Regions from separate parts of the Homo sapiens genome. Here regions 1 and 2 are each linked to region 3. Evidence: promoter capture Hi-C in human tissues and cell types (Jung and others, 2019). All regions are on one chromosome and are shown on one strand. The core of a region is centred on a gene start or on the middle of the fragment in contact, and the rest is flanking DNA. Distances in the headings are between cores, read along the strand shown.

What was found. The method cuts DNA at HindIII sites, captures the fragments that hold promoters and counts their contacts. A contact is called where the count stands out against the background at its distance.
Region 1: a contact is called between a fragment that was not itself captured here and the fragment with the promoter of VPS4A in region 3, in 1 of the 25 tissues and cell types used here (dorsolateral prefrontal cortex).
Region 2: a fragment that was not itself captured here is called in contact with the fragment with the promoter of VPS4A in region 3 in 1 of the 25 tissues and cell types used here (hippocampus).

The regions. Positions count from the first base shown.
Region 1 is chr16:68,553,427-68,556,941 of GRCh38, forward strand. All of the region lies in intron 2 of ZFP90 (ZFP90 zinc finger protein), which reads left to right. Among named protein-coding and RNA genes, the nearest start is that of ZFP90, 16 kb to the left of the region's middle. The HindIII fragment of the contact is 9,782 bases long and covers 1-3,515 here.
Region 2 is chr16:68,795,286-68,798,935 of GRCh38, forward strand. The region is part of intron 2 of CDH1 (cadherin 1); the gene reads left to right. Among named protein-coding and RNA genes, the nearest start is that of TANGO6, 46 kb to the right of the region's middle. RefSeq lists enhancers at 1-420, 421-921. The HindIII fragment of the contact is 4,503 bases long and covers 1-3,650 here.
Region 3 is chr16:69,309,638-69,312,947 of GRCh38, forward strand. It overlaps VPS4A (vacuolar protein sorting 4 homolog A), which reads left to right and starts at 1,713. Exons shown (of 11, transcript NM_013245.3): 1 at 1,713-1,895. The coding sequence starts at 1,875. RefSeq lists enhancers at 585-1,535, 1,536-2,485 and silencers at 1,428-1,567, 1,628-2,177. The HindIII fragment of the contact is 10,929 bases long and covers 1-3,310 here.

The DNA of each region.
Region 1 (3,515 bases), core at 96-2,595, 760 kb before region 3:
AGAAGGAGGGTGGGGTGGGTGCAGGCGAGAGCTGCAGGCAGGGGAGGAGGCTTGAGGTGAAGTCAGGGAGCTAGCTGGCACCCAGATTGTGAAGTGCCTATAGGCGGCCATAAAGACTTTGACTTTACTTGAAATGAATCGGTGCCATTGGAGGCCTTGAAACAGAGGTGACTTGATCTGGCAGATTTTTGTTTTGTTTTGTTTTTCTTTGAGACAGGGTCTTGCACTGTCACCCGGGCTAGAATGAAGTGGTGTCATCGTGGCTCACTGTAGCCTTGAACTCCCGGGCTCAAGCAGTCCTCCTGCCTCAGCCCTCCAAGTAGCTAGGACCATAGATGCAAGCCACCATGCCCAGCTAATTTTAAAAAATTTGTTTGTGTTAGAGATGGGGTCTCACTGTGTTGCCCAGGCTGGTCTGGAACTCCTGGCCTCTAGTGATCTTCCCACCTCAGCCTCCCAAAGTGCTAGGATCACAGGTGTGAGCCACCATGCCCAGCAGTCTGGCAGATTTTAACAAGATCTCTCTGGTTGTAATGTGGAAAATGGACTTGGGTGGTGGGGCAAGAGTGAGAGGAGAGATGAACTAGGAGGTTGTAGCAGTAGTTCAGGTAAGAGATGGTGACACGAACTAGGGTGAGGGTGACAGAAATAGGGAAAAGTGGGAGACAGTGAAGGGTTTATGGGTTGTGTTTTGTTTTGTTTTTTTTTTTTTTGAGATGGAGTCTCGCTCTGTTGCCCCGGCTGGAGTGCAGTGGTGGTGTCTCGGCTCATTGCAGTTTCCACCTCCCGGGTTCAAGTGATTCTCCTGCCTCATCCTCCCGAGTAGATGGGATTACAGGCGCCCGTCACCACGCCTGGCTAATTTTTGTATTTTTAGTAGAGACGGTTTCATTCCGCTTTCCCAAAGAGTTTGCCACGTTGGCCATGCTGGTCTTGAACTCCTGACCTCAGGTGATCCACCCGCCTCAGCCCCCTAAAGTGCTGGGATTACAGGCATGAGCCACTCAGCCTGGCTGCAGTGAAGTGTTTGTGAACATGATCAAATTTGTGTTTTGAAGTAACTCTGATAGTGCCCAGGGGAGAAAAAGGGGATTGGGATCAAGAGTTAAAGAACAGAGGCCAGTGGTTGCCCTGTCAAGGCAAGAAGTTATGAGTGGCTTGGAGCAGACGTTTGCTTGCTGGTTAGCACATTCTTCACCTTGAGTGCAGACTCTTTGGGAAAGCAGAATGAAACCAGGAGGCCGGCCAGGCTCAGAGGCTCACACTTGTAATCTCAGCACTTTAGGAGGCCGAGGTGGGAGGATCACTTGAGCCCAGGAGTTTGAGACCAGCCTGGGCAACATAGTGAGACCCCATCTCTATTAAACAAAATAAAACAAAATAAACCAGGAGGCCATATGTTAAATATGAGGAACCAGTTAAGCAAAGGAGTCCTGGTTGGGCAATGACTATTACTAAACCGAAGAGACAATATGTCTAGAGGGTAGAGTAGGCAGTGGGGAGAAGGTTTTACTTCTCACCACTTATCTCAAAATGGCTGGTCCAACCCCTTTATCCTTGCTGGCCATGCCTCTCCCAAGACCAGCCTCCCTTCTCAAGCTTCCCAGTCCCTGGATTGGATTCCCACATTTTCTTCTTCCATGCAGGTGGCACTTACCTCTTAGGACCTGGTACAGAGCCTACCTTGAAGTGTTCTCTCCCTCTCCCAATCTTTTGTGCTTTGAGCGCCTGCAGCACCTCACCTTACTGTGTATTGTCTCATATTGTGCTCTAATAAATAACGCTTTTAAAATAAACTGAACCGTATTCAAGGACTGCAGTGTTTTTCTTTTGCATTTTTAGTCTGCCACAGTGTATATAGTAAATCCAGGCACCTTGTAAATATCTAGTCTGTCAAATCTCTAACCTTGATCAGAAAAATGGCCCCAGTTTCATCCCTCCCCTGTTCCTGCAGGGACACAGCCAAGTGTTGAACAGAAATATGGGGCAGAGGAGCCAGTATGGTGTGTGGATGTGGTCATGCACCTCACTCAGTAGAAGGGGCCACTCCTGCCTTCTTTAATATTCAAATGTCATCCATCTCCTTAAGGCTCAACTCATTCAGGAAACAGAGATATAGTGTGAGTCAGGTACTTGCTGGACAATGGTGTTGTAGAATTTCAAAAACAACCAAAAGTATTATCCCTGCCCTCATAATGTGTACCATTTAACTAGGAAAACAAGCATTAAATAGATGAGTAGGTTTGTTTGAATAATGGTAGGTGTGCAGAGTGGTTTAAAGCACATGATAGGGAGGTTGACTCTCCAGTGGGGGATCAGAAGACTTCACTGGAGATCTGCTAACTGGCACCTGAAGTATGAAATGGAATTAGCTAAGGGAAATGGGAGGACAGAATGATACTCTTGAGGAATTTGAGTGAATCGGTTCAGCTATACCTAAGCAAACAAGAGAAGGGTACAGAATAAGCTGAAGCCTCTGTGAAACCTTCCCTCACTGCTCCAGCTAACTCAGCTCTGCTTTCGATGTCTTTTTGCACTAATTGTCTTTGCCATACTTTATTATATACTTTCTGAGACAGAAGTCTAACCAGGAATTAGCTAGATATGGTGGCATATGCCTGTAGTCCCAGCTACTCTGGAGGCTAAGGTGGGAGGATTACTTGAGCTCAGGCAGTTGAGGCTGCAGTGATTCATGATTGAGCCACTGGACTCCAAGCTGGGTGAGAGAGTGAGATCCTGTCTCCAAAAAAAAAGCCTAACCAAAAGTACATAGCTCAAGGAGGCCATGGTCACAGGTGACTCATGGTTTAACAAAGCCAAGTGATTCTAGACAATCAGCTCTCTAGCATCAGAGCTGACAATTGGGAGGCATGGGGCACCTCAGCCAGCCAGCCAGCCATGTGTCCATGGGATGGTAGAGGAAAAAGTGATTAGAGTAGGGTATGAGGCAGTGAAAGACCTTTGACCTAGCCGTTGTAATTTTAGCTAGCGAGCCAGGAGAAATCCTAGCATGTTTGCCCAAAGAATATTTATTACAGTAATGTTTACAATAGCAGAATACTGGAAATAATCACAGTACCTGCTGACAGGGACTGGTTCATTGATTCATTCAGCAAGTATTTTTTAAGTGCCCACTAGGTGCCGGGCGTTGTTCTGGGCACCAGGCATGTAACTGATCAAGATAAAGTCCCTGTTCCCATGGAACTTACAGTGGAGAGACAGACAATAGGGTAACAAGCTAATATCTCCGATCATTGCTAGAAACACAAGTGTCCTTTTTCTCGGAATCTGTTCTTGAGTTCAGGTGAAAAGAACTGGGCAGTGAGAGATAGCTGGACTAGCAGGAAAATTAAACACAAAATGCGATGGATAGTGGAGGTGCTAAGACAGCCTTCCCGAGGAGGCCATGCTTGAGATGATGCCTGAATAACTGGTTAACTAGTTGTCAACCATGTGGACATGCAGGAGGCTAGGGAATAACAAAAGGGCTGGGAACAAGTTTGATGTAGTCAAGG
Region 2 (3,650 bases), core at 428-2,927, 510 kb before region 3:
TGAATGAGGCTGTCTCCCCAGGATTCCTTTCATCCATCAAGTTAGATTTCTTTTTTTTTATTTTTATTTTAAGAGATGGGGTCTTACTATGTTGCCCAGGCTAGTCTCAAACTCCTGGGCTCAAGTGATCCTCCTGCCTTGGCTTCGCAAAATGGTGAGATTACAGGTATGAGCCACCATGCCTGGCTAGTTCTCTGATTTTTTTGTTTGTTTGTTTGTTTTTGAGATGGAGTCTTTTTTGCTCTGTCACCTACACTGGAGCGCAATGGTGCAATCTCTGCTCACTGCAACCTCTGCCTCCTGTGTTCGAGCAATTCTCCTGTCCTGGCCTTCTGAGTAGCTGGGATTACAGGTGCCCGCCACCATGCCTGGCTAATTTTTTGTATTTTCAGTAGAGACGGGGTTTCACCATGTTGACCAGGCTGGTCTTGAACTCCTGACCTCAGGTGATCCACCTGGCTCGGCCTCCCAAAGTGCTGGGATTACAGGCATGAGCCACCATGCCCAGCCAGTTCTCTGATCTTGTCCTCCAGTTTTTATGTGTAACTGAGGCTGAGCTCTCAAGTTCAAATGGTCTTTGAATAAAGCTAAATGCAGGCCGGGTGCGGTGGCTTATGCCTGTAATCCCAGCACTTTGGGCGGCCAAGGCAGGCGGATCACAAGGTCAGGAGTTCGAGGTTATCCTGGCCAACATAGTGAAACCCCGTCTCTACTAAAAATACAAAAGATTAGCCGGGCGTGGTGGCAGGCACCTGTAATCCCAGCTACTCGGGAGGCTGGGGCAGGAGAATGGCTTGAACCCGGGAGGTGGAGGTTGCAGTGAGTTGAGATCCTGCCATGGCACTCCAGCCCGGGTGACAGTGCGAGACTCTGTCTTTAAAAACAAAAAAAAAAGAATTGCTAAATGCAGTATTCTTTGGTGTTCGCTGTGGGAAATGTGTTCTGATGAGAGGGAGGCAATCCATAATGTGCCCCTTTGTATGCAGGGTGGGCAAAACACTGCTTCCAACTAGTTACGTCTAAGATACTAGGTTATCCCACTGGTTACCAAACAACTCAACTATGGTTTGCTGCCTTCCATAGCTGGCCCTGTCCTTAAATCCCAACATCGTCTGAAAATAATATAGAAGCTTTTGAGACTGTCTTGTTTCTACCCACTCACATTCCAGTTATGGGACCAGGCGGGCGTGGGAGAAGAAACGGGATCGTCAAAGTGGGACTGTTCCGTGTGGCATGATGGCAATTTCAAGCAAGGAATGTTGCTGAATGCTCAGAGCCTGCCCCAGGACCAAAAGCTTTTCATGAACTTGGGTTTCATTTGTATTTGAACATCAGTCATCTCTCTTGGGGTCCTCTCTTGAAAGCTACTTTTGCCCAGTAGGCTAGAAAGTGGGGCACCGTAGGTTTAATAGCAGCATGCAGGGATGACAGAGTATTAAAAACACTTTTTAAAAGTCATTCTTACTAGTTTTTGTCATGAAAAAAAAAAGAATTCATTCTAATTGTAACAGGCCAAGTAATACAAGGATATATAAGGAAAATATGTTGTTGTTGTTTTCAAACTGCCTCCTGGCCAGGCACAATACTTGTATCTGTAATCCCAGCACTTTGGGAGGCTGAGGTTGGTGGATCGCTTGAGGCCAGGAGTTCAAGACCAGCCTGGGCAACGTGGCAAAACCCCATCTAGTCCTGTAAACATAAAATTACATTTTTTGCTGAAATACAAAAAATACAAAAATTAGCTGGGTGTGGCAGCACATGCTTAAAATAGAGCATGGCACATTAATATTCTACACATGTTTAAAATACTAATAAAATAGGCCAAGCATGATGGCTCATGCCTGTAATCCCAGAACTTTGGGAGGCTGAGGCAGGTGGATCACCTGAGGTCAGAAGTTCATGACCAGGCTTGGCATCATAGCGAGACCCTGTCCCTACAAACAATAATTAAAAATTTGCTGCGGTGGAGTACACCTGTAGTCTCAGCTACTCTGGAGGATGAGGTGGGAGGATGGTTTGAGCCCAGGAAGCTGAGGCTGCGGTGAGCTAGCGTTTGTGCCACTGCACTTTAGCCTGGGTGACAGAGTAAAACCCTTTCTCAAAAAATTAAAATGAGGCTGGGCTCAGTCATTCACTTCTGTAATCCCAGCACTTTGGGAGGCCAAAGCGGGAAGATGGCTTGAGCCCAGGAGTTTGTGAGCAGCCTGGGCAACGTAGTCAGACCCCATCTCTACAATAAATAAAATTAGCCAGGCATGGTGGCATGTACCTGTAGCCCCAGCTACTCAGGAGGCTGAAGCAGGAGGATTGCTTGAGCCCCGAAAGCCAAGGCTGCAGTGAGCAGTGTTTGCACCACTGCATTCCACCCTAGGTGACAGAGACCTGTCTCAAAAAGCACACAAATAAAATTAAATAAAATCTGAATAAAATAGTTCATAAAAGCTAATTGAAGCTTAGTTGAGGCTGCAGTTTTTGATGATGGTGATGATATTGTAATGAAAAGACTTTCCCAGCTGGGCACAGTGGCTCACACCTATAATCCCAGCAGTTTGGGAGGCAGAGGCGGGCAGATCACTTGAGGTCAGGAGTTCGAGACCAGCCTGGCCAACATGGTGAAACCTTGTCTCTACTAAAAATACAAAAATTAGCTGGGCGTGGTGGTGTGCACCTGTAATCCCCGCTACTCGGGAGGCTGAAGCAGGAGAATTGCTTGAATCTGGGAGGCAGAGGTTGCAGTGAGCCCAGATTGCACCATTGCACTCCAGCCTGGGTGACAGAGTGACACTCTGTCTCAAAAAAAAAAAAGACTTTCCCACATGGAGATGGCCAGTAGTGGGGAGTGGGGTCTTAGCTTCTTTTGTTGGGATTTGGTTTTTACACCAAGTCACCAAATAAGTTTATGAAAGGTGGGCATACTGGGTTAAAGAACACTTAGACCCTTGTTAGCTTTATTTTTGTTAGCTTTTTTTATGGGCATGTTGAAATATACCCAGTCCCCGTATTCTGATCCTCCAGTTTCAACATTTTGCCATTCTTCTTTCCTCCCACTTGCTGGGCTCAGAGACAACCCAGCCCTTGCCAGCGTGACAGTGAGCTTCCCAGAGCCTTTCTGGAGCTGAAGAACCTTTCAATCTTTCCTACAATTTCCTATAATCAGCCCAGGGGATCAGGTTGCATGGGGAGATAATGAGTCTTATGAGCACCTGGAATTCAGGTTGGGGCTCCTCGTCATACTGTCACTTCTCAAAGGGTAGGGCTTAACCACCATTAAGATGAGGTGCCCCAAAGCAGGTTAAGTGCCTTGGATCAAGTTATTTGCAAAACCATTTTCATTTTTTCAGGCCGCCACCCTTGGCAAGTCCAATCATGCTTGTCTCAACTTTCACTGTCTAAATTTGGGAAGGCTGGAGAAAGGAATTCAGTGCAGCCTTCATTCCCTGTTTACATGACAAGCCCCTAAAGATGACCTAGTTGCCCCATTACTTCTGCTGGGGGTGGGGGAGGACTCTTTGAAGAGCATCTGGTTTTGCTAGTTTGAAAAGAAATTCCTATTTTAGACTTAAAAGGATGGTATCTGCCCATCCTTTAAGGACTTGGCATTTCTTCTTGATTCTTTCATCATCTTATGGCTCAGCTGTTCAGTTAACAAA
Region 3 (3,310 bases), core at 463-2,962:
ACGCATCCCACCACCAGGGGTGTTCCCTTCGGTCGCGTAGTCAAGCTAATGTCCTCATTGTTTTCTCCTTTGTATTTATTTATTTATTTAGAGATGGAGTTCCGCTCTTGTCGCCCAGGCTGGAGTGCAATGGCGTGGTCTTGGCTCACTGCAACCTCCGCCTCCCAGGTTCAAGCGATTCTCCTGTCTCAGCCTCCCAAGTAGCTGGGATTACAGGTGCCCACCACCATGGCCGGCGAATATTTTGTATTTTTAGTAGAGACAGGGTTTCACCATGTTGGCCAGGCTGGTCTTGAACTCCTGACCTCAAGTGATCCACCTGCCTCGGCCTCCCAAAGTACTGGGATTATAGGCGTGAGCCACCGCGCCCGGCCTCTCCTTTGTATTTAATTAGCATTTTGTGAAGAGAGATTAAGGTGTGCCAATTTTTTGGTTTTTTTTTTTTTTTTTTTTTTTTTTTTTTTTTTTTTTTTTTGGAGGCAGGGTCTTGCTTCATTTCCCAGGGTGGAGTACAATGGCCTGGTCACGGCTCACTACAGCCTCGACCTCCCAGGCTCCAGCAATTCTCCCAACTCAGCTTACGGAGTAGCTGGGACTACAGGTGTGCGCCACCATGCCCAGATACGTTTTTTATTTTTTGTAGCGATGGGGGTTCACCTGTTGCCGAGGCTGTTCTCGAATTCCTCGGCCCAAGCAATCGGCCTGCCTCGGCTTCCCAAAGTGTTGGGATTACAGGCATGAGCCCCCATACCCAGCCTCAACTTGGATGTTTTTTGCCCTCCATTTTTTTTCTCTCACAGGATAGACTTGTGGACAAATGGATCACTTGCCTCTGGTGCGTTTTTTTGTTTGTTTGTTTTGTTTTGTTTCTTAATTTAGCGACGAGGTCTTACTATGTTGCCCAAGCTGGTCTTGATCCTCGGCTCAAGCAATCCTCCTGCCTTGGCCTCCCAAAGTGCTGGAATTACAGGCGTGGGCCAGTACACCCAGCCCTAGAACTGCTTTGATCATTGTATCCCCAGAAACTAGCACACAACGCTGCACACAGTAGGTGTGCATGCCTGTAATCCCAGCTACTCGGGAGGCTGAAGCAGGAGAATCGCTTGAACCCGGGAGGCGGAGGTCGCAATGAGCCGAGATCATGCCACTGCACTCCAGCCTAGGCGACAGAGCAAGACTCCGTATCAATCAATCAGTCAATCAATCCAAGCAAAACAAAACTGGCTTTGAACAGTCAGCGGCATCCCACCAGGGATTGAGCCCCAGTGTGGGGCACACTCTGTTTACATTAGCTAGCTCATTTATTCCCCACAAAAGCCAGACAAGGCAGGTACTAATTATGATCGTGCGATATTAAACATGGAGAAACCAACGCTCTGATAAGTTCGTTTTATTGTGAGAATAAAACTGCTCAATGGGCGCTGTTATTCCAAGCGAGGTCAGGATTTCCGGATTCTACCCCGCTCCGCCCCTGGCCCCGCCCCGAGAATGTACGTCCCGCCAGGCCCCGCCCCGGCCTTGTCCCACCCACCCCGTCCCCGCCCCCTGTCCGTCTCGCCCTAGTCCCACCTCCTCGTCCCCAGTCAGTCCTGCCTCTCGAACCGCCCCCTGCCTTCGCCGAGGCAGGGAGAGGTGCCTGCAGTGCGAGCCGTGGACGCTAGGGGGCAGCCGCTCGGCTCGGGCCCGACCGCTCTGGGCTGCGCTCCTCGCTTGCCCTCGGACTCGGCTCCCGCTGCGAGCGGCCGCCCTGCCCGCGCACCGCGCTCAGCGCCCACCGCCGGGCTTCCCGCGCCGGACCCAGTACCTCGGCTCCCCGGGGCCGGACCGAGGCCGCAAGCAGCGCCGCGGGGTGTGGGGCGGACCCAGGAGATGAAATGACAACGTCAACCCTCCAGGTACTTCGTGCGGCCCGGCCCGACTTCGGAGGCCGAAGGCAGCGGGGCCTGCGGGCCGCAGAGCCGGGCGGCGGGCGGGTGGTCAGGTGGGCGCCTCCCAGCCCCGGCCTCGCGACCCCGCTCCGGCCGCCCCCTCGCCGCTTCCGCCCGTGTCTGTTTCCACGCGCTCGGAGCCGGGTGGCATCTCCACCCTCAGGCCTTCCGGCCCTGCCCGGCTGGCCCAGCCCCAGGGCCGCTTCGTGTAGCCGGCGCCCCGGTACCGCCGTGGGGATCAGCCTCACCCGAGCCGCACAGGCACCCTCAGGAAGCTCGGCCCGGGGTCCGGCTGGGCGTTCAGACAGCGATGCTCGCTCCCTCCTCTCCTGTCTCGCTCCCTCCTCTCCTGTCCCGGGTCCTGGAAGTCCCTCGACCTCACTTCGAACAAGCCCCGGCCCCTTCCCCAATCTTCGACTTCCTCTTCTCGGCCAGCGACCCTTCATTCATTCCCTAGATCCTGCAGGGTGGTGCTGGGATGGCGCCACCTGGGTGAACAACTGACCCACCCTCTAGGTGCTGTCAGTCCTGCGGGGCCAGAAGAGATCAACATGCTCAGGCCTCATTCCGGGGTTTGAATCTCAGCTCTGCCACTCACCAGCAAGTGACCTTGGGCTAGTTTTTTTTTTTCATCTTCGGGTCTCGAGTTTCCTGGTCTGTAAAATGGGGTAATGCCCTCTAGGTTGTTGTGATGATAGCTTTAAATTGAATAATTACGGTAAAGCATTCTTGTATGTCTGGCACATAGTAGGTGTCCATTAAGTGACAGCCAACAAAGTGCCTGGGAGAGTTAGGCAAGACTTCATGGAAGAAGGGACATCAGAGTTCCAGTAGCATTCAGAGACCTGGAGGTGGAGGAGGGCAGAAGTAGGAGCAGACATGGAATGAGTTGGGGTACCAGGTTAGGAATTAAGAGTCCATAGCCAGATCCCACCGTACCACCAGCAGAAGCCGCAGATCCCGTCTGCCCAGGCAGGTTTTTTATGGCCCGTGAACCGAGAATGTTTTTCAGTTTCAAACACAGGTGTATTTATTTATTTTTAAATTTTATTTATTTATTTTTTTGAGATGGAGTCTCACTCTGTCACCCAGACTGGAGTGCAGTGGTGTGATCTTGGCTCACTGCAGCCTCTGCCTCTCAGGTTCAAGCGATTCTCCTGCCTCAGCCTCCTGAGTAGCTGGGATTACGGGCACCCGCAACCACGCCCGGCTAATTTTTGTATTTTTAGTAGAGACCGGGTTTCACCGTGTTGGCCAGGCTGGTCTCGAACTCCCGACCTCAGATGATCTGCCCACTTCGGCCTCCCAGAGTGCTGGGATTACAGGTGTGAGCCACGGGTCTGGCCTAAACACAGCTTTATTAAGGTATAACTTGCGTGCTT